3 separate regions of the Homo sapiens genome follow, and regions 2 and 3 are each linked to region 1. Evidence: promoter capture Hi-C in 16 types of primary human blood cells and fetal thymus (Javierre and others, 2016). All regions are on one chromosome and are shown on one strand. Each heading gives the region's core, a stretch centred on a gene start or on the middle of the fragment in contact. The rest is flanking DNA. Distances are from core to core; before and after follow the strand shown.

Region 1 (4,781 bases), core at 1,367-3,866:
GGGTTCAAGCAATTTTCCTGCCTAGGCCCCCCAGGTAGCTGGGATTACAGGTGCCCGCCACCATGCCCAGCTAATTTTTGTATTTTTAGTAGAGACGGGGTTTCACCATGTTGGCCAGGCTAGTCTCGAACTTTTGACCTCAGGTGATCCACCCGCCTCAGCCTCCCAAAGTGCTGGGATTACAGGCGTGAGCCACCGTGCCTGGCCTGGGATCTTTTGTTTATTATCACTTTTATTTGTTGTTCAAGCAACTGTATGATAAAAATCAGACAAACAACTATATATATATATATATATATATATATATATATATATATATATATATGTTTTTTTTTTTTTTTTTTTTTGAGACAGAGTTTCACTCTTGTTGTCCAGGCTGGAGTGCAATGGTGCCATCTCGGCTCACTGCAACCTCTGCCTCCCGGGTTCAAGCGATTCTTCTGCCTCAGCCTCCTGAGTAGCTGGGATTACAGGCGCCTGCCACCACGCCCGACTAATTTTTGTATTTTTAGTAGAGACGGGGCTTCACCATGTTGATCAGGCTGGTCTTGAACTCCCGACCTCAGGTGATCCACCCACCTCAGCCTTCCAAAGTGCTGAGATTACAGGTGTGAGCCACCGCACCGAGCCAGAGAGACAACCATAAATCACTAGTGAGTTTTCACGTCCCCCAGTTTCTATCCAAGTGCAGATATCGCTTTTCCATGGTTAAAATTATAGCACAGACACTATATTGTATTGTTTTCCCCAATTTTTTGTTATAAAAATTTTCAAACATAGAGAAAAGCTGAAATATATAGCACTACTTAGAGCCAACAATAGTAAACATTTTGCCATATTTGCTGTCTCTCCCTGAATGTTTATGTGTGTACATGATTTTATCTTTTGTTGAACCATTAAACAATAGTTTACAGGCATTATGGCCTTCACTCCTCAACTCTTCAGAATGCATCTCCTCACAATAAGGACATTCTCTCAGTGAGCACAGTATAATTATTACACTATAAAATTACCAATAATTCACGAAGATCACCCATATCCAATCCATATTCAAATGTCTCCAATTGTCAACAAATAGTAAAACCAGCTTAAAAGACATATCAGGATCCAAGCAAGATGACACATTGTATTTGGTTATGTTTTCTAGCTCTTCTATTTTGGAACAACCCCTCCCTACCACTTATATTTTTCTTTTCTTTTCTTTCTTTCTTTCTTTCTTTTTTTTTTTTTGAGACAGAGACTCGCTCTGTCACCCAGGCTGGAGTGCAGTGGCACGATCTCGGCTCACCGCAACCTCCGTCTCCGGGGTTCAAGTGATCCTCCCACCTCAGCCTCCTGAGTAGCTGGGACGCCTGGTGTGCCACACTACATCCCACCAATTTTTGTATTTTTAGTAGAGTTGGGGTTTCATCATATTAGCCAGGCTGGTCTCCAACTCCTGACTTCAAGTGATCCGCCCGCCTCGGCCTCCCAATGTGTGGGATTCCGGGTGTGAGCCGCTGCGCCTGGCCCACTTATATTTTTCATGGCATCCCATTTATGAAGAGACCAGGCTCCCTATTTTATGTAACGTGGGAATGGATCTTCCTGTTCATCTCCTCTGCTCAGTGTACGGTCTAGCAAGAGCAGACTCTCTGTAGGTGTTTGTTGAATAAATGAAACCAATAGTAATGGTTATTAATAACAATCCCAGTAGCCAATTTTTATTGACTATTCTCTTGGCCAGTGTGCTCACGTTAATCTAATTTGAACCTCACAGAAATCTTACGCGTTATGACATATTTGTCTTATTCACAGGTGAGGAAACCAAGGCTTAGGGAAGGAAAGTCGCTTGTCTGAAATCACAGCTAGAAAAGGGGCCAAAACCCAAGGGTGGACCCACTGGCTGGAAAACAGTGCAGTTAGGCAGGGGCCCCTGTTTCTTAATAATGAATGAACCAACGACCCCCAAGGCTGGTTTGCCCGTGCACACGCACGCACGTGTGCAACACGTAGCACTTGCTGAGTGTTTGCTACTTGCCAGGCCTCATGTCAAGCACTTTACGCGTGCTTTTATGCCCTACGTTTTGTTTTTGTCTGTTTTGCTTTTTTCCCCTAATGCCTAGCCAAAGGCGTGGCCCAGGCGCCCAGGCAGGACTTGGGGAGTGAATGAAGAGTGAACAAATGAATGAATGCGCGGCAACGGGATCTTCATAAACCAGACCCTCCTCGGGGATCTAATGCGAACACTCCCGAGGCCCGGGCCCAGGTACGCTGAGGGCGGCTCGTGGGCCCCAGGCCGACCTCAGCCCGCGACTCCCGGGCTCCGGGGGCCCAGGTGGCCCCCAGTAGGTGAGGAGCCGGGCCCGCCGGCGCCTTGGCGTTGCCACCTCTACCTGCCTGCCCTCTCCCCTTCCGGATCCACAGCCAGGCCTCGGCGGGCTCCTGGTGTGCAGCCGCCCGGCCGCTTCCGCCCGAGGGTCGCGGGGCTCAGAGTCCGGCAGGCTCCAGGCGGGGCAGGGGATGTCCGCGGCCCGGCAGGCGCACGCCCACCTGTCGGCCGCGCAGGCGCAGCAGCGGGCCGGCCTCCCCGCGCCCCGCGGCGCGCGGCCAGTGCGCAGGCGCGGCGGCCGATGCGAGTGTGTATGTGCGGGCGAGAAGATGGCGGCGGCGGGGGAAGCAGCGTGAGCAGCCGGAGGATCGCGGAGTCCCAATGAAACGGGCAGCCATGGCCCTCCACAGCCCGCAGGTAGCCGCCGGTCTGCGCCTTCGGCCGGAAGGGGCCCGAGCCCCGGGCGGGCGGACGCCGCGGCGGGCGGGCGTCCGCGCCCTGCCCGGAGCGAGCGTGTGGGAGTGGGGGAGGGCGCTGGGACACGCTGCCCGGGCCTAGGCCGGAGCCACCCGCCGCCTCCGCGCCCGCCGCGCCTTCGTCCCCTGAGCCACCCGGACCCCCTAGTCCCGGGGAGGTCGAAGGGCGGGGGCTCCGGGCCCCGCTTGGGGAGGGCGTGGAGGGCGCCGAAGGGGTTAACCTCCCTGGGGCTGGACCGCGGGGCGAGCCCGGGGTGTGGAGTGGGGCCCTCCCCGCCGCGCCGGCCGGGGGAGGCGGCCCGGGGGCTCCGGGAGTCCCCTGGAGCGCAGGGGCCCCAGAGCAGCTCAGGTTGCTGCCTCTGCCTGGAGCGAGCCTCAGAGATTTGGGGGTGCCCTGTTGCCCCTTTGCCCCAAGAGCTTCCTTTCTCAGCTTGATTGATGATGCGGGGGTTGCCGATTTTCTGTTTTTTAGATAGAAGTAGCAGAGTAGCGGCCTTGGGCTGCTGTTGCAAAGAAAACTCGAAATAAGTCGCAAGGACCGTACTTTCACTTGCGTTTGAGTGACATCCCTTGCACGAATCCATCCCAGCCAGGCTGACAACTAACGCACCCTGCCTGAACAGTAGCTAAAGCTTGGGGGCCCTTTACAATAATCCCGTGGTGGAAAGAAAGAGCTCTTTTTGGGAGATGTGCGTGTAGAGTTAAGCTCTTATTCCCCTCTCCCACCCCTTCTCTCACATCTTCTCCCCCCTCCGCCATTATAATTATTCTGGACAAAAATCGGCATGATGTATTATTTGTCAGCCTTGCTTTAGACTGCTAATTTGTTGACATCTGGTCCCTATAAATTGTTGCACACTTTTAAACCATCTCATTGTGTATTTGTATTAAATATGGGGAAATGAAACAAAGTAGCCATTCGGGAAACTGATTGCGAGTAAAATCATAACCCTTCATGAGCAATTGGGTTTTGTTGCCCTTCTGCAGATGAAGTCAATCTGACTACACCTCTTTTGAAACATGATTTTCGGAACTATTGTAATGAATGCGTGTTGTGGAATCTAAAATGCGAAAACTTTTTAAAAAATTAGATCTTACGACAAGCTTCAATTTTGTTAAATTAGCTGTAGTTTAGTTTGCATCAGAATTTCCCCCTTTAACGTTTTGTTCCCTTATTCATTTACTTTTGTAAGTAGTGTAGGTCTTTGCGCCAAAAAAGGGATCAGTAGTTGAATAATTTTTACAAATGTATAGCCCAAAGATTTTAAGAGATTTGGTGTATTTAGCTTTGTTTAGACCTTTCTGTTAAAAAAAAAGATTTGATATTTGCTTTTTTCTCAACTTAAATCCTAATTAACTAGCTTATTAGAATTGGTATGAACAAGTAAAAGGCTCATTATGAATTAATGTGTAATATTCCTTGTGATTTTGACATGAAGAAAGCATCTTTAGGCATAGCTCACTTCCTTTATTTAATAAGCATCAATCACAATTCAAGGTTGATTGAAATGTTAATTAATGGGGATGGATAATATGTAAACTTAATTGTAATTTCGTTTGCATTCATTGTCCCAGTATTTACGTTTTATACAACAGTCTAAAGCGTTATACACATCTTTAGAAAATTGGAGTAGCAAAAGTTGGCGGAACGTAAATGTTAGCAACACTTTGGGTTTATTCTTTTAAAGTATGATTTAAATGCTTTTAAGTTTTAGCATGGAGAAAGTAGCAAAGGAAATAGTTTGATTTCTCATAATTTTCTTCTTCTTTTTTTTTTTTTTTTTGAGTTGGAATTTGGCTCTTGTTGCCCAGGCTGGAGTGCTGTGGTTATTAACCTATAAACTTTTTTATTTATTTTGAGATGGAGTTTCGCTCTTTTTTTTTTTTTTTTTTTTTTTTTTTTGAGACGGGAGTCTTGCTCTGTCGCCCAGGCTGGAGTGCAGTGGCATGATCTCGGCCCACTGCAACCTCTGCCTCCCGGGTTCAAGCGATTC
Region 2 (4,781 bases), core at 900-3,399, 290 kb after region 1:
CTACTCGGGAGGCTGAGGCAGGAGAATCACTTGAACCTGGGAGGCGGAGGTTGCAGTGAGCTGAGATCACGCCACTGCACTGGACTCAGTCTCAAAAAAAAAAAGAAAAGAAAAGAAAAAAGTGGGTCAGGTGCGGGTGGCTCATACCTGTAACCCCAGCGCTTTCAGAGGCAGAGGCCGGTGGATCACGAGGTTACAAGTTCAAGACCAGCCTGGCCAAGCTGGTGAAACCCGTCTCTACTAAAAATATAAAAATTAGTCGGGCACAGTGGCAGGCGCCTGTACCTGTAATCCCAGCTACTCAGGAGGCTGAGGCAGGAGAACTGCTTGAACCCGGGGGGTGGAGGTTGCAGTGAGCCGAGATCGTACCACGGCACTCCAGCCTAGTGACAGAGTGACACTCCCTCTCCAGAAACAAAAAGAAAAAAGTGCACTTTTCCTGGTAACTGTTTTGACTGCTTCTTTGATTGTACGCCCTTCTCTTATCGGTGTTTGCTCTGAGAGTTGTAATATCACAGATAAAGAGCCAGGGAAAGGAAGAGACAGTCAATTTCACCTAGCTTTGCCATGAGGAGAAAATACTGACAAATATTTTAACGAACTGACCCGGGCACCTTCTCAGAGCAGGAGCGCTCCTCATATTTTAAGCAGGCAGAGTGCAGAAACCATGGCTTCTGAAATGTGAATAAAGGAGTGTAGTAAGAATGTTCTCAGAGGTCAGGTCACTACAACTGAGTAACAGCACTGGGTGCTGTTTTTCAAATCTGGGTGTGACTTTTTCTTTTCTTAAATGCAACTGGAACATAGCAATTATGAAAACATTTGCCGAATGAACATGTGGTGAGGATTCATTCGCCAAATACTTTAAAAAATTTCCTCTCGATGCAAAAATGCTGACTGGTACAAGAGCAAAATGAAATTGTTTTCCAAAGTCAGTAAAATAGCCCTATTTTTCAATCAGATAAAAGCAGCTTTAAAAAATGTTTAAGGCTGGGTGCAGTGGCTCAAGTCAGCACTTGGGAGACTGAGGCAGAAGGATCATTTGAGCCCAGAAGTTTGAGATCAGCCTGGGCAACAGAGTAAGACCTCATCTCTACAGAAAATAAAAATTAACCAGGCATGGTGGCTTGCGCTTATAGTCCCCCCTACTAGGGAGGCTGAGGGGGGAAGATTGCTTGAGCCTGGGAGGTGGAGGCTGCAGTGAGCCATGATCATGCCACCGCGCTCCAGCCTGGATGACAGAGAGATCCTGTCTCAAAAAATAAAAATAAATAAATACATGCTTAAGGCTGAGTGTGGTGGCTTACACCTGTAATCTCAGCACTTTAGGAGGCCAAGGTGGGAGGATCTCTTGAGCCCAGGAGTTTGAGACTGGCCTGCGCAACATGGGAAGACCCAATCTCTACAAAACAAAATTGTTTTTTTTTTTTATAGTCAGGCATGGTGGCACACACCTATAGTCCCAGCTGTTTGGGGGACTGACGTGGAAGGATCGCATGAGACTGGCAGGTTGAGGCTACAGTGAGCCACAATCCCACCACTGCAGTCCAGCCTGGGCAACAGAGTAAGTAAGACCCAATGTCAAAAAAATTGTTTTAATTAAAAAAACTTTTAAAAATAATCATTTGAGTGAAATAGAAAAAACTAAAGATCAAAAGAATTTGGACAGACCCCTTAGCCAACCATTCCTTCAGCATTTTCTGAACCTACATCTTCTGCATCTGTCTGCTCAACATCCCCTGCAAACACCTTTGCAGCACCATTGCCTCTACATAAACCTCATTCACCCTGCAGGGCCTAACTTTTCTCTCTTCTAGGCAAGCCAACCTGAAAAGGGAGTTCTCTTCTTCTGAGGAGCACTTTGCGAAGAGGTCTCTAGACATCAGATGTGACTATCCGGAGATAAAGGCTGAAACTGCTTCTGCCTGCACTACTAGTAAAGCCTGACTGTCAGGGGGCTGAGAAAGTACCTGGAAGTTTCTCTGCCTCCGCTGAAGCCCTGGGCACGCTCACCAGCTCTCCCTCCCAGGTACTTACCACTTGCTACCTGAGAGCTCTTGCAGGTCCGACCTCCCGGCCTGATGTCAGCCCCTCCAGGGGGGTCTGGGTCTCCTCCTGCCCTGTCCCCCTCATGCCTTGCATGCTGTCTGGCGCACAGCAAGGGCATGTTTGCTAAAAGGCAGATGCAACAAAAAGCAAGCAGTCCCTCTCTCAGATTCCAATCACCTCCTGCTGATTTCCATCTAAGTTTCTTGGTGAATCGTTATCTGTGGGCCCAGGTACATCAAGGCCGTAAGCTGAAAAATTCCTCTGAGCAGAACCATTTTGCTTTATGGTGACTTCTCTAATAGGACACGTTCCATGAGAAAAGGAAGGGTGCTTTCCAGGCAGTAAAACAAGCTATACTTTTGTCAGAGCACAATGTTTGGGCAGTCTGAGCTCTCTCCAGAAAGCAGGGCCTCTTGAAAGTCTTCTAAAGGCACACATGTGACACCTGAGCCAGCTCAGCTCCGCCTTCCTGGTTCAGGTCCTGGTAAGACCTCCACGGAGTGCAGGATGCTGCTGTGGCTCCATGCCTGACCTGGGGGTGCGGATGGCAGGCACAGCTGTGTAAGGAGAGCGCCCACAGACACCAAACACTGGCCATGGCAGGACGTTCCTATAAGCACATATTAGGGTGACATATCATACTTGAGGGCTTTAGTGCCATATCTGTAAGATCCATTAGAAGTCAACAGGAAAATAACATGAAATCCAAAAACTGCTTTATTTTCAACAAAGCAACAAACGAATATAGCAAAGTTAGGCTGGACAAATACAGCTCTCAGTAACACAGTGCACTCACTCGTGTCTCTGAGTCACTGTATTTACACTTGAGTAATGCAACAGGAAGGGAGGGGAAGAAATGAAGAAACCATTCCTTTACATGGAAGCTAATCTAAAAGCAAACAGCACAGCCATTTGAGATGCGGTATTAAAATGTACACATTCCTTAGGAGCAAGGGCACAGCCTTATTCTGCACTGAATTCCAAAACCACCGTTGACTTCATACTCAAGACAGTTTCTGAGGGAACCGTGAAACACTGGGCACTCTCACACAGATGCCCCAGCATCACTCTTCTACCCTAATGGCCGATTTAATGGGATTTTCTCAACACTCCCGAACCTAAGCTCTTTCTCGGCATGTTAAATAAAGCCCTGTTTCCCAGAACACCAAAAGCAACACTACAAATCTCCATATTTAAAGGGACAACCACACAAGCAAAAACTTTCCGTTTCAGGCCGGGCACAGTGGCTCACGCCTGTAATCCCAGCACTTTGGGAGGCCAAGGCGAGTGGATCACTTGTGGTCAGGAGTTCAAGACCAGCCTGGCCAACATGGTGAAACCCCGTCTCTACCAAAAATATAAAAATTAGCCGGGCATGATGGCGGGTGCCTGTAATCCCAGCTACTAGGGAGGCTGAGGCAGAAGAATCACTTGAACCTGGGAGACAGAGGTCGCAGAGAGCCAAGATCACGCCATTGCACTCTAGCCTAGGCAACAGACTGAGACTCCATCTCAAAAAAAACAGACAAAAAAAACCAAACCACTTTCCATTTCAGGTGGAAAGCGGGGTATTCCCCTCATCTTGTGATACTGGCCAAGAACTCATCAATTCAATTCATGGAGTCCCCTCCACAGATACACCCTCCTTTTAGGACCGGAAGGCAGCGGGTGAAAAGGAAGGCGTGCCTGTCAGCTTGGCACCACGCCTCTGCTTTGCCACATGCACAGGTTACCTTTTTAGTAATATACAAGCTAGTGTCAGCTGTGAGAAAGGAAACAGTGATTGGACCCTAAATAATCACACTCTTACCTCACAAGTTATTTCTAAACATCACTTGAACATTTTGTGCCGTTTCTTCAGGATCTTAAGGTGCATACTGTCCTATGTGATCGGATCTGAAAGGTAATAAAATCTGATTAGAAAAAGTGATTTATTTTATGACAGACGTGTGTCATATTTCTTAGGGTATGATTAATTTTTGGAGCGTAACATTTGACGCATCAAGTTCTGTCACTCAGAACTATCCTTAAGTATGAAATCATTGCTCTTCTAAGTTTTGATTACTAGGTAAATTCACAATCCTGGAAATCAAGTAATTTATTTTAAATATTTCCATTTACCCTCCTGCTCTTTTAGCCCCAGTGTTAAATACAGATCTATAAGCTAAAATCCCTCCAGAAAAATCCCCTAGGGCAGACCAAATCTGGGTAGCCTGCACTTCTACCGTCGATAAGCTGATTTACTGGCCACATTAAAGGAATCACAGAACAGAGAGACAGAGCACTTGAGGCAGGAGGGGTGGACTAGAATGGCAGGCCCTGCTGTGGGAGGGGCGAGGAGGTGAAGGAAGACAGTGGAACCCAGTGAGGGCCACTCAATGAGAGCAGAGACTCCTGGCACGCATCTCCCACGTAGCTCCCCGAACCCTGACAGATGGGAGGGTCGAGGAATCCTCTCTGGCACTAACATGACCCAAGAAAAAGGTCTAAAGACTCTGCGATGTAGGGAAAACCCAACAAGAAGGTCAGATTCACTGTCAGACCTCCCTAAGTCAGGGGCCACAGGGAAACCCCCGCCACGGACACAGAGGTTCCAAGTGCTTGTCGTAGCTCCATTATAAAAAAAGAAAGTCCAGGCCAGGCGCGGTGGCTCACGCCTGTAATCCCAGCACTTTGGGAGGCTGAGGCGGGTGGATCATGAGGTCAGAAGTTCAAGACCAGCCTGGCCAAGA
Region 3 (4,781 bases), core at 683-3,182, 280 kb after region 1:
CAAGCACTCAAGATTTCTTTAAAAAATGAAAGCAGGAGGGCAACGAAGGGCCGCACAGGAACGGCTGTTCTTTGGATCGAGATGTCCTCCAACAGCAATACATTCATAGTAACCACGGGCAGGACCCCGCGGCTCTCTCCCCTCTTCCCTGAAACGTCGGTTTCTAAAAAATAGCTTGTTTGCTGTACACAGCCGGTAAATGTTACATTGCCTAAACAACACTGGCAATTTTGACACACATGCACACACGCGCGCACACGCACAGACACGCACACACACAGACTTGCTGAGAGGGTCAAAGGATGTCTCTTCCGGGGCAGCGGGGAGTGTGCCGGAAGCCACCTTCACTGTTCAGTGCACAGATCTTTTGCAACTTCAGTGCAAAGCATCGGAGCTAATCGAGACCAAAACGTCTTTCTATGTAAACGCCCTGCTGTGATCCGGGGAGTGCACTGCTGAGTGGCGGGGTCAGCAGGAGCCCCCTGAAATGACTGCTTGGAGAATCCCTGTTCACTGGATTCACTGTTTTTCTTCATGATTGGAAACAGCAGCTCAGGACCCAGGATTTGAATAACCCATGTAATAACCCGAAGTATTCTCCACAGAAGCCCCAGCTCTGCAGGAGGCCACGGCGTTTGGCTTCTTCGTGTGGCCACACACCTTTCCGTTGTTGTACAGGTGGGGACTGAGAGCCTCTTCCTCTGCCATCTGTGACTATAAATATATAAAACTCTGCTTGCTGCAAGCAATTGGTTTGTGTAGGTTCCAGTTGCCCTGTTGGTCACAGATGAGCTGTTGATATCCTTCAGACCCCAAATAAATAACTGGAAGTCTGTGAGCAAGTTTCAGTCTGATGAGCCACGCCTCACACTGAGAACTCCGGGCCACCTTTTCTGGGTCTCGTGGGCAGTCGCCTAAATCGGAAGCCCACAAAGGGATTCATCCAGAGGAGTGAGGGGGGCCCCCCAAAGACGGACTTCATCCCTTCCCATCGCAGCCTCCGCTCCCATGTGGGCTTCTCACTTTTCAATCGCTCGATCTCCTGGAAGCAGAAAGAAAAGCAAGTGGCAGCGGCTCCAGGAAGCTCGGCAGACCCCACCAAGCCTCAGAATCACACCGTGCTCAAGCACAGTGTGGGCTCGATGGAGGGTAGGTGAGTGAACTCTCCTTCCCAGCTCTGCCCCGATCCAGACCCCGTGGCCTCTGTGAGCCCAGCCCGGCTGCAGCCACGTGGCCAGCCCAGACTACCACAATGGCCCTCCCAGCCAGGCACCAACATTTGTCGCTCGTTAGTTACTGTGTACAGACATTTACTGAGCGCCACTCCAGGCCTGCAGAGCCAGGCCCTAAAGGCAGTCAGTTCCCTGAAATTTACTGACTGCACTGGGAGCTGGGAATCTGCCTGGCTCTGCTGACTTGCAAATCAAACTGAGACTAGAAATATGCACTGCCCAGAATGAAAGAAACAGCAAACACAGGGAGCTGGTTGCAGCTCATCAAGACCGTCCCATTACGTTCCCGAGTCAGTCCACAGGCACCTATTGTTGACATTAGGACTTTTCATTTACTCAAGCTTGGACCACATATGAAGTCCACACAGCCGAGAACAAAGCTTACCGTCTCGTCGTTGCATATGGAGTGGATTTGGGTGCCAAACATAACTGCAGTGAAAGTGAAAAACAGAAGACCCTCAAGGCACAGGAAGATCAACAGGATTACAGTTATCGGAGGTGAAAAATCACTGCATTCTGCGGACAAGAGGAAGTTGGTTATAACTGGTCCTGAATACCCCGAGTGGCAGAATGTTTGGCTCAGAGAAGAATCCTCTAGGGCCAGCCCCTGGCCAGCTTCCAGGGGGAAGTTGTTCACTTTCTAAATGGGCACATTCATTGTTCTCCAAGGAGCAGAGGAGGGCCACCCTTCCAAGCAAAAATTCATACCATGACTTCCTGGCCAGTGGTTTCAAAAGAGTCTGTATTTTCTGAGGTTTCTATTGACACTGTATTTATGAATTAAATGGCAAATGAAGCCAGACCAGAAGAGTTGTGTGCACCCATACCAGTGAGCAGTGCTCACAGGAGTCTGTTCACCATGTTCCCCTGGGGTGGGATGAGCCTGTCCAGACCTCACTGCATATCTAAGGTAGGATAACGAGCACCTATTTTCACTACACTTGCTTAGGGTCGGTCACTCACGTAAGCAACGTGAAGCCTGCTTTGAACAATGGCGAGCTAGCTGACCAGCAGACAGACACAAGCTTTTGGGGCAACAATATACTAGTAAAATGGTGGTGTTAAAACTTAACTAAATTCTTTAAAATTCAATTGCTAAAATAATTGCAATGATTTCCTTCAAAATTGGAAAACTGGTTCTTCCTTTAAAGCTTTCCCCTTTCATCCAATAACAGCATGCAAAGCCAGGAATGACACATAGCCAGGGAACTTACCAGTCCACTGCCCTCGGACACAGGAGATGAACTGAAATCCACAAAGGATCAGAGCATGGACTGAAGACAGAGCTATATACATCTAGAATGAGGGGGAGATTGGTTAGTCACTTTTATTTTTTATTTTTTTTAGAAACAGAGTCTCCCTCTGTTGTCCAGGCTGGAATGCAGCGGCGTAGTCTCAGCTCACTGCAACCTCCGCCTGCCAGACTCAAGCGATTCTCCTGCCTCAGCCTCTCAAGTAGCTGAGACTACAAGCACCATGCCCGGCTAACTGTTTTGCATTTTTAGTAGAGATGGGGTTTCACCATGTTGGCCAGGCTGGTCTGTAACTGCTGACCTCTAGTGATCCACCCAGCCAGTTAGTAACTTAAACAAGTCTTTCTAAGAGCAAAGGCTGATGACACATCATGTGTATACCTCCATCTTGTCAGAGAAAAAAATGAGGGAAGGATTAAATGGCAGCAGTTGACATTTTCCTACCCAAGATCATATTAGACCAAGTAGAATAATTTTATAGAAAAATATAGCTGGGCATGGTGGCTCACGCCTGTAATCCCAGCACTTTGGGAGGCCAAGACGGGCAGATGGCTTGAGCTCAGGAGTTTAAGACCAGCCTGGGCAACACAGCAAAACCCCGTCTATAAAAAAATAAACGGCCGGGCACGGTGGCTCACGACTGTAATCCTAGCACTTTGGGAGGCCGAGGTGGGCGGATCGCCTGAGGTCGGGAGTTCAAGACCAGCCCAACCAATATGGAGAAACCCCATCTCTACGAAAAATACAAAATTAGCCAGGCGTGGTGGTACATGCCTGTAATCTCAGCTACTTGGGAGGCTGAAGCAAGAGAATCACTTGAACTTGGGAGGCGGAGGTTGCAGTGAGCTGAGATCACACCACTGCACTCCAGCCTGGGCAACAAGAGCAAAACTCCATCTCAAAAAAAAAAAAAAGAAAAAAAGAAAAGAAAAAGGAAATAAACTCTAACATACTTTAGGAAGATTCCTGTTATTATTAATAAACAATAGCGATTGAGGACATCTGGGAGAGAATTAAATTACAGTGAACACCTAAAATAATACAAGCAACATATTACTTATTGGGACTACTTCCTGCCAATGACAGCACAGTATTATAATTTGAATCCTGGAGAAAAGGCTGGAGAGAAACTGGCCTGACGTTAGTAGATTTCTCTGCTCCAGGCAAGAAGCAGTTAAAGAATTTCAAATTCAATGTAAATTCAATACAAAAATATTTTTACTTACAGTGAAGAGCACAAAAAATCTTTGATTCTTTTCTCCTACACAATTGTTCACCCACGGGCAGTGATGATCCATTTTCCGAATACATCTTTTGCAAATACTGAAAAGGAGAGTTTGATTTTTCAGTATTCCATGCTCTGAGGAAACCAGAGTAACACAACCAAATAAAATCAAAGGTGGAGGAAAATTAGAATGTATATTCTAATACAACATGTCAAAAAATATCATACATTCTCACTATATTCCTTTAAGGTTTATCATTTTAATTAAATGTCTTCCGTTTCCTAAGGAAAATACTCAATGGACCAACAGCTTGGGGCGAAAGGTCAAACTAAGCCATACTTCACGAGTTCTCAGACACTCCCCCAGTAGAGCTGGATCATGTACACCTATCAGTAATGTTCCTAATTTTGCAAGCTTACAAGTCTATTTCAATAAAAAACAAAAACTGAAATTTTACCCTCAAGGAGAAACATTCTTTGTATCTTCAAATAATTCCTACCACTGAATCCATATTCACTGATGAATATGCAGTATGGATTGCATATTCATCTTGAATCATCAACTACACACCCAGGCATGAAGTCGTCTTGTTTTTAACAGCTGTATTTTACTTTTGCCCAAAACACTCTGTATGTCCAATTTTAAATAACTAATTTGATTATCGATTACTTTTTAGTCCAAGCTTGCACCATTTAATTACATCAAGCAGACATCGATGGCAGCAGGTTCGCTGCAGGCAGACTTGCTATCATAGCGTCACCTTTTTTTTTTTTTTTTTTTTTTTGAGATGGAGTCTTGCTCTGTCGCCCAGGCTGGAGTGCAGTGGCGCAATCTCAATCTCAGCTCCCTGCAAGCTCTGCCTCCCGGGTTCACGCCATTCTCCTGCCTCAGCCTCCCGAGTAGCTGGGACTACAGGCACCAGTCACCATGCCCGGCTAATTTTTTTTTTCTATTTTTAGTAGAGATGGGGGTTTCATCGTGTTAGCTAGGATGGTCTCGATCTCCTGACCTCGTGATCCGCCCACCCCGGCCTCCCAAAGTGCTGGGATTACAGGCGTGAGCCACCGCAC

What was found. Contacts are between HindIII fragments. The CHiCAGO score rates a contact against its expected background, and 5 or more counts as called.
Region 2: a contact is called between a fragment that was not itself captured here and the fragment with the promoter of USP10 in region 1, in 1 of 17 cell types (neutrophils). The highest score is 5.8, in neutrophils.
Region 3: a contact is called between a fragment that was not itself captured here and the fragment with the promoter of USP10 in region 1, in 10 of 17 cell types (monocytes, neutrophils, non-activated CD4 T cells and 7 more). The highest score is 9.0, in monocytes.

What each region holds. Positions count from the first base shown.
Region 1 is chr16:84,697,384-84,702,164 of GRCh38, forward strand. It overlaps USP10 (ubiquitin specific peptidase 10), which reads left to right and starts at 2,617. Exons shown (of 14, transcript NM_005153.3): 1 at 2,617-2,728. The coding sequence starts at 2,708. RefSeq lists silencers at 2,089-2,608, 2,699-2,918, 2,929-3,038, 3,079-3,188. The HindIII fragment of the contact is 5,859 bases long and covers 1-3,417 here.
Region 2 is chr16:84,992,063-84,996,843 of GRCh38, forward strand. It overlaps ZDHHC7 (zDHHC palmitoyltransferase 7), which reads right to left. Exons shown (of 8, transcript NM_017740.3): 2 at 3,860-3,945. Among named protein-coding and RNA genes, the nearest start is that of ZDHHC7, 17 kb to the right of the region's middle. RefSeq lists an enhancer at 2,559-3,059. The HindIII fragment of the contact is 8,914 bases long and covers 1-4,781 here.
Region 3 is chr16:84,975,478-84,980,258 of GRCh38, forward strand. ZDHHC7 (zDHHC palmitoyltransferase 7) reads right to left here. Exons shown (of 8, transcript NM_017740.3): 5 at 3,712-3,808; 6 at 2,447-2,528; 7 at 1,618-1,748; 8 at 1-1,042. The coding sequence ends at 866. Among named protein-coding and RNA genes, the nearest start is that of ZDHHC7, 34 kb to the right of the region's middle. RefSeq lists an enhancer at 854-2,053. The HindIII fragment of the contact is 645 bases long and covers 1,611-2,255 here.